Regions from separate parts of the Homo sapiens genome. Here region 1 is linked to region 2. Evidence: promoter capture Hi-C in human tissues and cell types (Jung and others, 2019). All regions are on one chromosome and are shown on one strand. The core of a region is centred on a gene start or on the middle of the fragment in contact, and the rest is flanking DNA. Distances in the headings are between cores, read along the strand shown.

Evidence for each region. The method cuts DNA at HindIII sites, captures the fragments that hold promoters and counts their contacts. A contact is called where the count stands out against the background at its distance.
Region 1: a fragment that was not itself captured here is called in contact with the fragment with the promoter of AGO2 in region 2 in 1 of the 25 tissues and cell types used here (mesenchymal stem cells).

Annotation. Positions count from the first base shown.
Region 1 is chr8:141,162,346-141,168,851 of GRCh38, forward strand. DENND3 (DENN domain containing 3) reads left to right here. Exons shown (of 23, transcript NM_001352890.3): 10 at 988-1,084; 11 at 2,841-2,944; 12 at 3,845-4,044; 13 at 5,659-6,180. Among named protein-coding and RNA genes, the nearest start is that of DENND3-AS1, 35 kb to the left of the region's middle. RefSeq lists a silencer at 2,305-2,599. The HindIII fragment of the contact is 7,482 bases long and covers 581-6,506 here.
Region 2 is chr8:140,630,419-140,637,091 of GRCh38, forward strand. AGO2 (argonaute RISC catalytic component 2) reads right to left here and starts at 5,215. Exons shown (of 19, transcript NM_012154.5): 1 at 5,067-5,215. The coding sequence starts at 5,088. It overlaps ERICD (E2F1-regulated inhibitor of cell death), which reads left to right and starts at 3,817. Exons shown (of 1, transcript NR_170171.1): 1 at 3,817-6,673. RefSeq lists enhancers at 120-620, 2,686-3,453, 3,454-4,220 and silencers at 4,027-4,076, 4,560-4,729, 5,380-5,779. The HindIII fragment of the contact is 25,430 bases long and covers 3,633-6,673 here.

The DNA of each region.
Region 1 (6,506 bases), core at 3,072-5,571, 530 kb after region 2:
GCCACTCCAGAGGCTGAGGTGGGAGGATCCCTTGAGCCTAGAAGTTTGAGACCAGCCTGGGCAACATAGCAAGATCCCGGCTCTTTAAAAAAAAGAGGCAGAAAATATGATTACATATGATAAAACTTTATTTCCCCTAGATGAAATAATTTATTCTCTCCAAGAAAACACTGAACACATTACGTACTAAGTATGCCCTGTAAGGTTATTCATTCTATTTATATATTACTTTAGATCTGGGAGATCATGTGCTAAAATCGCGAGTTTGTAACATGATCTGAGGAAACCGGGTACAAAGAGGTGAAGTGGGCCGGGCTCGGTGGCTCACGCCTGTAATCCCAGCACTTTGGGAGGCCGAGGTGGGTGGATCACCTGAGGGCCAACATGGTGAAACCCCATCTCTACTAAAAATATAAAAATTAGCCAGGCATGGTGGTGTGTACCTGTAGTCCCAGCTACTCGGGAGGCTGAGGCAGAAGAATCACTTGAACCTGGGAGGTGGAGGTTGCAGTGAGCCAAGATTGTGCCACTGCACTCCAGCCTGGGCCATAGAGCAAGACCCCGTCTAAACAAACAAACAGACAAACAAACACAGAGGTGAAGTGACTTGTCCGGGAAGGCTGGCGGCCGAGCTGGTCAGCACTTGGAGAGTCTGGCTGCCCCTCTGGGCTCCCCACCCTGAACTCAGTTTCATGTGTGTGGACCGCAACTGACTTTTGTGTCTTAATTTGCATAAGGAACTAGTGGGCTGGAGGAAGGTGAGAACAGGAACACTGCCTCCTGTACTTTCGTTCTAGCTGGGGGAAATTTATGCTTGACCACAAAATACATCCACATCGTATCATTTTGGTAATCAAGAATCTTTCTGAAGAACATGGCTTTTTCAAAGTTCGTATCTCTTCTAACCATTTCTCTGCTACTAAAAGTGGTATATTTTTCATGTATTTAAGAAAGTTTTAGCACTCAGACTCTCTTTCTCTTTGTTAGGGATGTAAAGAATCATTTAAACTATGAACACAGAGTCTTTAATAGTGAAGAATTTCTCAAAACCAGGGCTCCAGGGGACCATCAGTTTTATAAGCAGGTGAGAGCTGTGGGATTTGGGTGTGCCTGTGTGTGTTCAATCCATTATCCTTTTCTGTATTTAAATACTTTTCAAAATAAGTGTTCTCAAGTGTATCAACTTTTCCAAAAAGTTTGTTTTAGCATGGTTCCTTTTGACCATGTGGCTCTCCCTCTTTTTTAAAAAAATCAGCTTTTTAAGAGTATAATTTACTTGTGGCCAGGCACAGTGGCTCATGCCTGTAATCCCAGCACTTTGGGAGGCCGAGGCGGGCAGATCACCTGAGGTCAGGAGTTCGAGACCAGCCTGGCCAACATGGTGAAATCCCATCTCTACTAAAAATACAAAAATTAGCTGGGTGTGGTAGTGCACGCCTGTAATCCCAGCTACTCAGGAGGCTAAGGCAGGAGAATTGCTTGAACCCAGGGGGTGGAGGTTGCTGTGAGCCAAGATGGTGTCACTATATTCCAGCCTGGGCGACAGAGCAAGACTCCGTCTCAAAAAAAAAAAAAAAAAAAAAGTATAATTTACTTAAAATATGGCCATTTTAAGTGTGTGGTTTGATGGATTTTGACAAATGTACATATCTGTATCACCACTTCCTCAACCTGGACATAGAACATTTCCATGGCTCCAGTCTGCCCCATCCCTCCCCAGGTCCTGGCAACTCTACCTGTGTGCATCCCCGTAGACGGCTGGCCCATCTCAGAGTCTTGCGCTGTGCAGTCCTGCGGTCTGCGCTCTGTCTGCCTCTCTCCCTCAGCCTCCTGCCTCGGACCGAGCTGGGCTACTGTGTGTCTCAGCGGCGGCTCCTTTTTTTGCTAGGAATGTCCCGTGGTTGGGACAGAGTGCGCTTTGTTCTTCTGTCCACCTGCTACTGAGCATTGGGGTTGTTTCCATTTGTGACTATTACAAAAAAATAATCACCTTGGGGGCTTTGCCCTGGCAGGCGATTGAAGCTGCCTGAAGAGCCCCTTGATCCTTTGGGGGTTTGTTTTTACAGCTTTGGGGTGGGCCGAGAACAGCCTTTCTCTAGGGTTGGTTTATAGCCTAACCCATCTGCTAAGTGACGTACCCTGCCCCGGGTGTCTCCTGAATGGCTGAGGGGTCAGCCAGGGCCCTCCGCCTTGGCTGTTGGGAGCGTGACTGGCTCTCTGCCCTGTGAGCTTGGAGAGTTGTTTTGCTTACAGCTTCCCAGTCGTTCTTTGGTTTGATGCGGTTTCGCCCTATGACTGGGCAGCGGGGTATTCAGCAAAGGCTTAGGGAGACCCTGATGCAGGCTCCGGGAGCTCCCTGTATCATTCCCTCCTCTCCAGAGCCCTGCCCGAGGCTTCCAGCTGCCTCAGCCTCTGTGAGCTCCCTCCATGCCCTCAGTGCTGGAGCTGCGCCAGCCACGAGCCTGCCTCTCGTCCAGCATCTGAAAACAGTCGTTTCCTCTTTTTTATCGAGTTTCCTCATAGTTTATGTCAGGAGGATATGTCTGAGCCTTGTCTACTGCCTTATGGCCAGAAGCTTGTGTCCACCTCTTGTAGCTATGATGAAATACTCTTTTGTTCATGGGGTGGGTATGTGGGACCCAGTGTGTGAATGTATGGCAGCCATTTCTTCTCCTGTGTGAATGAGGAAGAGCAGAAAACCCTCGAGTTCATTCACTCAGTCAATATCCACTGGGTGTGAGTGGTGATGCCCAGTTCTGTGCCAGGAAGGCTCAGGGGCTTTGGAGCAGGGACCTGGGGAGTCGGCACAGCCCAGTGACCAGCCCCTCTCTCTTTTCCAGGTCTTAGACACCTACATGTTCCATTCTTTTCTTAAAGCCCGGCTCAATAGGAGGATGGACGCCTTTGCTCAGATGGACCTCGACACCCAGTCGGAGGAGGACAGGTGCTTCACTGTTGTGTTTTGGATCTGCAGCTCTTTAGGAATCACAGTGTTCAAGGACCTCAGTTTTATTCGAATGAGTAAATGAGAAAGTCAATGGGAAATACCTTGTGCTTAGAAACTCATGATGAACTGGGCGACAGCTAGGAAGCTCTTCTCTCCATGTTTCTACTTCTTCTTTTTTTTTTTTTTTTTGAGACGGAGTCTCGCTCTTGTTGCCCAGGCTGGAGTGCAGTAGCTCAATCTCCGCTCACTGCAACCTCCGCCTCCTGGGTTCAAGCAATTCTCCTGCCTCAGCCTCCTGAGTAGCTGGGATTACAGGCACCCACCATCATGCCCGGCTAATTTTTGTATTTTTGTAAAGATGGGGTTTCGCCATGTTGGCCAGGCTGGTCTTGAACTCCTGACCTCAGGTGATCCACCCACCTCAGCCTCCCAAAGTGCTGGGATTACAGGCATGAGCCACCACTCCTGGCCTGTTTCTACTTCTTGAGGGAACACTTGAAACGTGCCCGATGTTAGCATGCTCCCCGTGGTTTGTGGCCCTTGCGTCTTCCTCGGTGCTGCTCTCTCTCATCTCCTTTCTCTCTTCCCACCTCCCCCCATCCTCAAAGCCTGCTGTTTTCCATCTCTTCCTTGCTCTCTTCCTGAGCCCCCTCCAACATGTGTCTGCTGCAGTCAGGGCCCCTGTTGGCTTATGCTGGTTTCTTCTGGGCTTGTGTCTGGGTCCCCCTGAGGCTGCACTTGGTGAGATTTGGGCAACATGTTCTTACCAGTCTGTTTTCCACTGGTGTCCAAGAGTGTCATGTGCTCTTCATCACACTGGGAAAAATGCTTAGTTTAGGCTTATTCTTCAATCATTATTGTGTCTATAAACTAACGCGTTGCTTTTTCGTACCCCAGAATAAATGGAATGCTTCTAAGTCCAAGGAGACCGACCGTTGAGAAAAGAGCCTCCCGGAAGTCCTCGCACCTGCATGTCACCCACAGGCGCATGGTGGTCAGCATGCCCAACCTGCAGGACATTGCCATGCCTGAGCTGGCACCCAGGAACTCCTCGCTCCGGCTGACGGACACCGCAGGCTGTAGGGGCAGCAGCGCAGGTGAGGGCTGCCCCCCACTGTGGTGCTGTGTGTCGGTCCCACCATTCCTGCACCTGCAAGTCATTGAGCAAAACTGGGACTTGTTTCAGGAGAGACGAGTGGGCTTGTTTTAGCAGCTGAGTTATTTGAAATGTTTAGAATATTCATTTTGCCAAGGTATGCCTTCTAGAAAATTATTTCTCGTCTGTATTTTCTGCCACCCAGTGTCACCGCTAAAGATAACGGGGGCTCGGCATGGTTCGGCATCCTTCACAGGTGTAGGCTGTGCCTGTCTCTGTATGTGTGGATTGCATGTGTATAAATACATATTTACACATCCACACGTGTGATAGGAGGCAGGGAGCGCACCAGGCACTTTCTAGAGCCGGAGCTGTGAAGGAGCCCAGTGCCCCTGCCCTCGTGGAGCTGGCATTCCAGGGCCAGGGCTAAAGTGAGCAGGGCCAGGGATGGGGAGGGGGCTTGACTGTGGTTGGGACATTTCCACAGAGATGGGACTGCATGGAGAGGCCAAGCCCAGCCTCGCGCCTTCTTGGGGAGGTACGTCCTGTCCCTAGTGAATGGGAGAAACTGTCGGGAGGCCGGGGCCTTGACCCCCAGGGCACCTGCTGCTGCTGTCTCGGGCCCAGGCAGCAAGTACCATGTGGCTCCTCCTGATCACTGTGCTGGGACCCCAGGAGCTGCACGAGTGACACCTTGATGACCCCGAGGGCTATGGTCTAGCAGGGGCAGTGCGCATGAATGACAGACCACGTTGTCTTTATCGGCTGAGCGCTGGAGCTCAGAGCGAACATTCTGGAGGCCACTGTGGGGTCCGAGCCTTCTGCCCCTGGCTGTGTGACCCTGGGCAGGCAGCTTCACCTCCCTGGTTCTGCAGTTCCTCTTCTGAACATCTGTCAGTCTGCCGCTGGCAGGTGCCCTGTGCCCACTCACCCTGGGAGCATGCTCCGCTTTCCCTGCCCTCGGAACCTTCCCCTGGAGCCCCCATGACCCTCCTCCTGCTCTCTTGGTCCTCTGGAGCTCCTGGGAGAAGAGGAAACCCAGCACCCAGTTGGTGCCTAGCTCCTGGAGGGCCCTTAGGTAACATCTATAGAAGGAGTTGGTGTGAGACACACACCTGGTTGAAGTGTGGCTCAGGCACTTAGTCGCTGTGTACCTGGGACAAGTAACCCAGGCTGTGGAAGCCTCGGTTTCCGCATCTGTAGAACGGGACTATAGTAATAATACCCCTGTCCTGAGTTGTCTTTAAGGTAAATGAAACAATGGTTCTAAAGGGCTTCATCCTGCCTAGCAGGTACATCTTGGCTTAGGCTATTAGCTTCATCCTCAAATAAAGCCTCAGTACCCGATACCTCAGTAGTATTACTAGTTGTAGCAAACCAAATTGTTCAGTGAATGCTAGCTGCTATTCTCCTTGGGGTACCATGGAAGCAAAGTGAGGGTTCTCTCATGCCTCCCAGGGGGGTGGGTGTGTGGAGCTTTCTGGAGGGAGCACACCCATTCTCATTTTATTTTGCATCCAGAGAAACATTGTCCTTGACAAGATGATGTGACAGGGACACGTGTTCATTTGGAAGGTCTGTGCTAATGGTCTCCTTTTCCCCCTGAATGTTTTAGTTCTGAATGTCACGCCGAAGTCCCCGTATACATTCAAGATTCCCGAAATCCACTTTCCGCTGGAGAGCAAGTGCGTGCAGGCATACCATGCCCACTTTGTCTCCATGCTGAGCGAGGCCATGTGCTTTCTGGCCCCCGATAACTCTCTGCTCCTGGCCCGCTATTTGTACCTCCGAGGGCTCGTTTATCTGATGCAGGGACAGCTGCTGAACGCCCTCTTGGACTTCCAGAATCTGTATAAAACAGACATACGGATCTTTCCCACTGATTTGGTGAAGAGGACGGTGGAATCCATGTCTGCCCCTGAGTGGGAGGGGGCTGAGCAGGCGCCGGAGCTGATGAGGCTCATCAGCGAGATCCTGGACAAGCCGCACGAGGCCTCGAAGCTGGACGACCACGTGAAGAAGTTCAAGCTGCCCAAGAAGCACATGCAGCTGGGCGACTTCATGAAGCGGGTCCAGGAGTCAGGGATCGTGAAGGACGCCAGCATCATACACCGGCTGTTCGAGGCCTTGACTGTAGGTAAGAGGAGGCCTGGCACCATCACAGATTTTATTATTTAGAGACAGGGTCTGGCTCTGTCGCCCAGGCTGGAGTGGACTGGCAATCACAGCTCACTGCAACCTCCACCTCCTGGGCTCAAGCAGTCCTCCCACCTCAGCCTCCCGAGTAGCTGGGACTAGACTACAGGTACGCGACACCGTGCCCGGCTAATTTTAGTATTTTTTGTAGAGACAGGGTTTCAGTATGTTGCCCAGGCTGGTCTCGAACTCCTGGGCTCAAGTGATCCACCCACCTCGGCCTCCCTAAGTGCTGAGATTACAAGAGTGAGCCTCTGCGTTGGGCCC
Region 2 (6,673 bases), core at 3,965-6,464:
ACAACGTGTAAAGGACCAAGAACAAAGAGTGGTTTCAAGTTCCTAAACTTTTGGAGGAAAAAATTAGAATAGTGGCTACAGCGAACAAGTGCAGGCCCCTGACCGCAGCAGCAGGCTTGGGGCTCTCAATGTGTGGCGTGGGCCAGCAGATCCCCAGTGAGGAGGAGAGAGCAACCACAGGCAGCACAGAGCTGGCCACAAACGATAAGGGCAGAGATATGTGAAAGAGGGAGCCATTCCCAACCCAACACTGGGGAGAAAAGAATCCCTCTTATTTGAAATAACTGTAAGAGATAAACTGCACAAGAGCCTCCAGTTATCTTCCGTATTTGCCATAGGTCATACAGTGTCGCTTCTGCTGAAAGAGGACCACAAAAAGGATTCTGCTGCAACTGAAAACTCAAGATGCAAAGGGACCTGCCCCAACACTCTGCGTAACAGCCTGGGCAACATGTCAGGACTCCATCTCTAAAAAAGTAAAACACCTTCGCTGGGCATGGTGGCACATGTCTGCAGTCTCAGCTACTAGGGAGGCTGAGGTGGGAGGGCGGCTTGTGCCCAGGAGTTTGAGGCCGCAGTGAGCCATGACTGTGTAACTGCACTCCAGCTTGGGCAACAGAGAACAACCCCAACCCTCAGAAACAAACAAAACAAAACACCACTTAAATGTGTCAGAATTAAAACCATGAGCAACTGGGTCTCCAAACAGCCCCCCTCAACAAAACGGAGCCCAAAAAACAAAAATTTTGAGCAATGGGGCTCTTTCTAAAACCATTAAAGAAAAAACGGAGGGGGAGGGGAGGCACGAATGCTCTGAAGAAAAGAGATTTTAAAAGACGTAGGCCGGGCGTGGTGGCTCACGCCTATAATCCCAGCACTTTGGGAGGCCGAGGCAGGTAGATCACCTGAGGTTGGGAGTTTGAGACCAGCTTGGCCAACATGGTGAAACCCCATCTCTACCAAAAATACGAAAATTAGCCGGACATGGTGGCTTAGTCCCAGCTCCTCAGGAGGCTGAGGCAGGAGAATCGCTTGAACCCGGGAGGAGGAGGAGGTTGCAGTGAGCCAAGATGGTACCACTGCACTTCAGCCTGGGTGACAGAGCGAGACTCCGTCTCAAAAAAAAAAAAAAGAAAAAAAAGAAGACGTAAATATAACAAGTCAAATGCAGGGAGAAGAGAGAGGGTGGGCTAGCTTTAGAGGCGGAAGGCAGAGACCCAAATGTGTGTGTGAACTTTGGTTAAAATTCAGGATCCAAAGCACCCAACTGGAAACACACTTCTGAGAATATGAGAGAAATTGATCACAGACTGTTAACTGTCATAACGGCACTGGGGTATGTTCAAAACGTCTCCATTGCTTTAGACACGCATATTTAAATATCGAGGTAAAATGACAGGTCTGCAATTCACTTTGGAAAACGTCCACAAAGAAAAGGGGCATATTTGAAGCAAATGTGGAGAACCCTGATGACTGCTAAAGCTTCCTAATGGATAAATGGAGGGGTATTAAATGAGTCACTCTACTTTTATGTCTTTTCAATTATTTCACAATATTAACTATTTTTAAAACTCAAATGTTATGTTTTGAAGATTCACAGTAACGATTCGTGAAACAAAACCACATTTTATGAGACTGGACCATTACAGGAGAGCATTCACTGTACAACACACAGAGAATAAGCCCAACTGGCATTGTGGAAACTTTTGACATGGAAACTAGAAGTTAAAAAATAATTCTGCTTCTTCAAATTGCACAGGGTTTAGGAGTTTGGAAGCGTTTACATCTTTTTTTCCTATGCACTTACTTAAATTATTCCCCAAGGTTTATCAAAGACCCAAGGGGGACTCTGCACAAATACCCAGCCATGCCGCGATGGCCTCGGCCATGTCAACTGCCCCACGGGTAGAGGGTGATATCCTGCCATGGCAGATGGGCACCAGTATTGGGAGAAGTGGCCATACCTTCATGGGGACCACTGAGGGAAGGGGGAGAGGGGGCAGGAGGAGTTAAATGGCTCTATAAACCACAGTGAAGTTCAGCTCTTCTCAAAGTCACAATCCTATTTAGACAACTGTCAAGTCTTAGATGTCACAGAGGTTACTTTGTGGCAAATCTGCGAGGGGTGTAACACACGGGAGCTTGAAAGTGTAGCAAAACCATAAGAGACAATATCCTGGGGGCAGGCAATCACTAGACACAGATCAAGACCTTTAAATGGTTAAAAAACCAAAAAACTAATTTGTTCATCAGTGAAGGTTCAAGGTCATTGGAGAATCCACCCATCTTAAACAACTAACTCAGTTCAAAAAACGAAAAAATAGTAACATTTCTAACTTCAGATTCTAAATAGCATTCACATACGTCACAGCATTTGTTTGTGATTGGTATAATGTAGAGCTATTGTGAACTGCTTTTTAAATTAGTAAGTTGCCTAATAAGGGTGTTACAATTGGAAGTAGCAAAACTATTTGTAATTTTTCTTTTCTTTTTTTTTTTTTTCTTGAGATGGAGTCTCCAAGTCTCACTCTGTCCCCAGGCTGGAGTGCAGTGGCGCAATCTTGGCTCACTGCAACCTCTGCCTCAAGGGTTCAAGCGATTCTCCTGCCTCAGCCTCCCGAGTAGCTGGGACTACAGGCGTGCACCACCACGCCCAGCTAATTTTTGTATTTTTAGTAGAGACGGGGTTTCATGATGTTGGCCAGGATGGTCTCGATCTCTTGACCTCGTGATCCGCCCGCCTTGGCCTCCCAATGTAATTTTTCTATAATTCAAATTGAATGTCTTATAATTCTAAATTAGAAAGTATAAGATTAAAAAGAGTCTCAATGAAGACTATTCCAAAAATTCCTTTTACACAAAATTAAAAGCCTTAATGTGTAGCATAAAATGGAACTGCACCACAGACTTATAATTACAGCACGTTTGTACAACCTGAAACTTGGGTTCATTCCCATCCTGCCATTAGCTATGAATTATCCTGCAGACACATTTATTCTTTCAACCACTGTCCTGTTCCAGAGGGTCCACTCCCTACCAGGCCCACACCAAGGCAACAATCTCCAAAAAGCAGCGAGTGACAGAAACGAGCCTGTGGATCATGAGGGCCAAGGTACGCTGAAAAATGAAATCGACAAGACAGCATCCCGGGGCAGTGCACACAGTACAGCAGTGAGCTGGGGTGGCTTCCTGAAGCCCCGCTGTCAATGACAAGTATGCGGGCAGGTGCTGGTCCAGTCCAGCCCTAACAGAGACTTCTTACTGTGGGTCTGGGTTATAGGGCTTGAAAGGGACTGCCCTGAGGAAGGCACCCAGAGAACCAGCTCGGAAGTCGGACCGATTGTCCTGATACTCACTCACTGCTGTGTGACCTTGGTGAAGTTCTCAACCTCTGTGAGCCTCGGCTGTCTGTCTTCACAAACACCACCAACCTCAGCAAGTGGAGTGAATTAAGTAACACGCAAAACACAACACAGAAAGCTTGACCTTCCTTAAAGCCTCTTCACTTTTTCTGGGCCTCCAACTTTTAAAACCGATAACCTGAAAAAATGTAGTGCTGTCAGTCCCATAAGCTGGGTTCCTCTACAAAGAGGAGCTGGAAGGTCCCAACTCACAAGGGGATGCCCGGTCCTTTCCCAAGAGGGGGCCTGGCCACCCAAGGCCTCTAGAGGCCAGCACCTGCTCCAGGACTGCGGCCCCTCCCAGGTGGAGGGGGAAAATCATTCTTCAAACTGCTGATGGCCCTCAGGGGTTGAAAAGTTGGTCAGACTCCGCCTTGTTGAAGCTTTCTAAATGACATCAGAAAAAAGACGCGACATTCGCAAGGCACAGAGCCAACAGCTCCAGCAGTGGGGGCCACCATCAACGGACCAAGGTGGGCCAGGGGGCCTTCCGGACCCCACAATTTGGGGCCGGTCTGCAGCAACGAGGGCAGCATCGGGAATGCGAGCCTCCTCGCCCGGCCGGGTAAACATAAGCCCAGAGCCCGGCGGGGCCTGCGCCGCCTGCGGCCCGGCTGGGGCCCAGCGGACAAAGGGGAGCAGGCGGTGCCCCGTCCCAGCGGCCAGGCCGGCCGAGAGAGCCAGGAGCCACGTGCCCGGTGGGAGCACGCCAAAAGCAGGAGAACACCTGACCGTTTTTTTGGCCCACCAAGGAGACCGCCTTCTACTCTGCATTTAAAAAGAAAAACAACGCGTTACCGCTTTAAGTTTTTTAGAACTTTTCCAGAGAAAGGCCGACTAGCAACAAGGGGTGCTACAGGAATCCACCTCGCCTCACCTCTCCTAGGAAATTGTAAAAGGAATTAGCACTTGAATGGGGAGGCCGGCGTGTCTGGAATGAGAACGAGCCGCGCACGCAGTTTGAGGGTTCCGGGGAGCCGCGTCCTCCCCTTTCCAGGCGACAGCCCTAACTACAGGAATTGGCCAAAATTCAGCATTTCCAGACTTTCCTTGGGAAAAGGGGCCGAAGAAGTGCCGGCAACAAGAAGGGCCACAACGGAGCGCGCCACAGACTCACCGCGGCTGGGGTCGGGACCGGCGCAGCCCCCTCCCCTCCCGCCCGTGCGCGCCCCGAGCCGGGCGCCCCGACCCGGCCTCCACCCGCTCAGGCGCTCAGGGTCAGGCCGGGCCGGGCTGCGGCGCCCCCATCCCCGCCCGGGCAGCGAGGCCGGGCCAAGCGGGGCGCTCCGGGCCTCGGGCCTACACGCGGCGGCCGCCTCGGCCCCGGCCCCAGCCCGCGGGCCCCGGGCGGGGGATGCGAGGACGCTGGGACGCGGGCCCGAGGCGCGGGAGGGGCCCAGGCCGCGCGGGGCGCCCCGACGACTCGCGGGGGCCGAGGAGGCCGGGGCTGCGCGTCCAACGCGGGGCCGAGAAAACGGCCGGCTCGGCCCCGCCGCCGCCGCTCCTCGAGCCCCCAAGCGCGGCCCCGGCTCGCCCGCCCCCGGCCCCCGCCGCCCCGACCCCGCGGCCCCCCGATCCCCGGCCCCTGCCGCCCGCGCCGGGCCCGCCAACCACGGGCAGGAGCGCGCGAACGGCCGGGCGGGCGCCCCGAGCGCCAGGACTCACCGGGGCCGGCTCCCGAGTACATGGTGGCGCCGCCGAGGGGCTCCGGGGCCGAGGGGCGGCCGCGCGCGCGCCACGGGCCCCGACGCCGCGAGCCGCGAGGGAGCCGCCGGCCGCACGATCCGCCCCGGCGCGGCCGCCTCGCCAAACAGGTTTACCCGACGCGGCCGGGGCGGCGGGCGGAGGCGGCGGCGGGAGCGGGAGCGGGAGGGGCGGGGGAGGAAGGAGGAGGGAGGGGGAGGGGAGGCGAGGCCGGCGGCGGGAGCGCGCTCGCGGGGGGAGCGGGGCTGGGCGCGCGGGCGGGGTCCGCGGCGGCGGCGGCGGCGGCGCCGGGTCTGGCGGGGCCTGGGGCGGGGACCCGGGGAGGGGCCCGGAGACCTCGCCGGGCGGTGGGAACCGCGGGCGGGAGCGGGGACGAGGGCCGAGGGCGGCGCGGCCCGTGTGGCGCGGGGGCGGGCGCGGCCCCGGGGACCCTTCACTGCCACCCAGAGAAGCCGCGTCTTCCCGACGGGGAGGAGCCGGGCCCCCCGGCTGTGCCGCCGGAGCCGGAGGGGAGGCCACGCGCCCCCGCTTTCCCCGCCGCCCCCCGGTGGGGGGCGCAGAACCCTCCCACCCTCAGCCCCTCGGCCCCCAGCCTGGCTCTTTAAGTTACTACAGAAACACGGAGGTCGGGAAGCTCCCTCCCAGCCCGGAGCTTGAACTTGAACGCGGCCGGCCGCTCGCGCAGGACCACACCGCCACCTCCCGGCGCGGCCCCAGAACCCAGATAATCCGTTTAAAGCACTGAGAAAATCTAAGAAGTTTTTAGTAAACTGTAGCTGGTATCAGGGATCAGATCAGCGGACACGCCCATTCCAGCAGTCAGGGGCCTGCTCGGACCGTCGTGCACCTCCGAGCGTTTCTGTCCGGTCCCTCTGGGTCCGTCTGGTTTTCGGAGGCTTTCCTGGAAAAGCCAGCCTGTGGCTACCTCCTTTCTCCCCTAAGTGATGGAGGATTAGAAGGCAGAGGTTGACCCACAATCTAAAGTGCCTGGTCGCCTTTTCCCAGATTTCCCGGAGCATTCCTTCACCCCGTGGCATCGGCTGTCTGCATATGGGTGCAAGGCCCTGTTCCGGGCGGAGAATAAACAGGAGTTCTGACTGACAGGAGCTCCGCAGCCAGCAGGGTGGTCACTAGTTCTCTGCAGTCTCGGAGGACAGCCCTGAAGAAGGGCAGGAGAACCAGCACTTCCTCCGAAAACTCAAAAGGACATCAGTCTTCACCAAGTTGCCGATACAAAACGTGCTCCTGAAATGTGTAGTAATGAACACCAGGAAACCTGGGTAGGAGTGTGCATGGCATTCTTCATCACCGCTTGGACTGCATGGCACTGAATACCCACGGAGAGCAGGATGGAGAAACAGTGTGCTCATATTCACAGGATGGAATCTAGCCATTCACAAAAATTCCAAAACAGGCAAAATTAAACTGCATTCTTTAGGGAAGCATCATTAAGTAGTAAATAATTGACAGAAGGGCAAGAAGGTGCTTACTCTAAGTGTCAGAATGGTGGATACAGCTGGGGGTGAGAGGGCTGTGACCACAGCAGGGCCCCTGGGGGATTTGGGGGT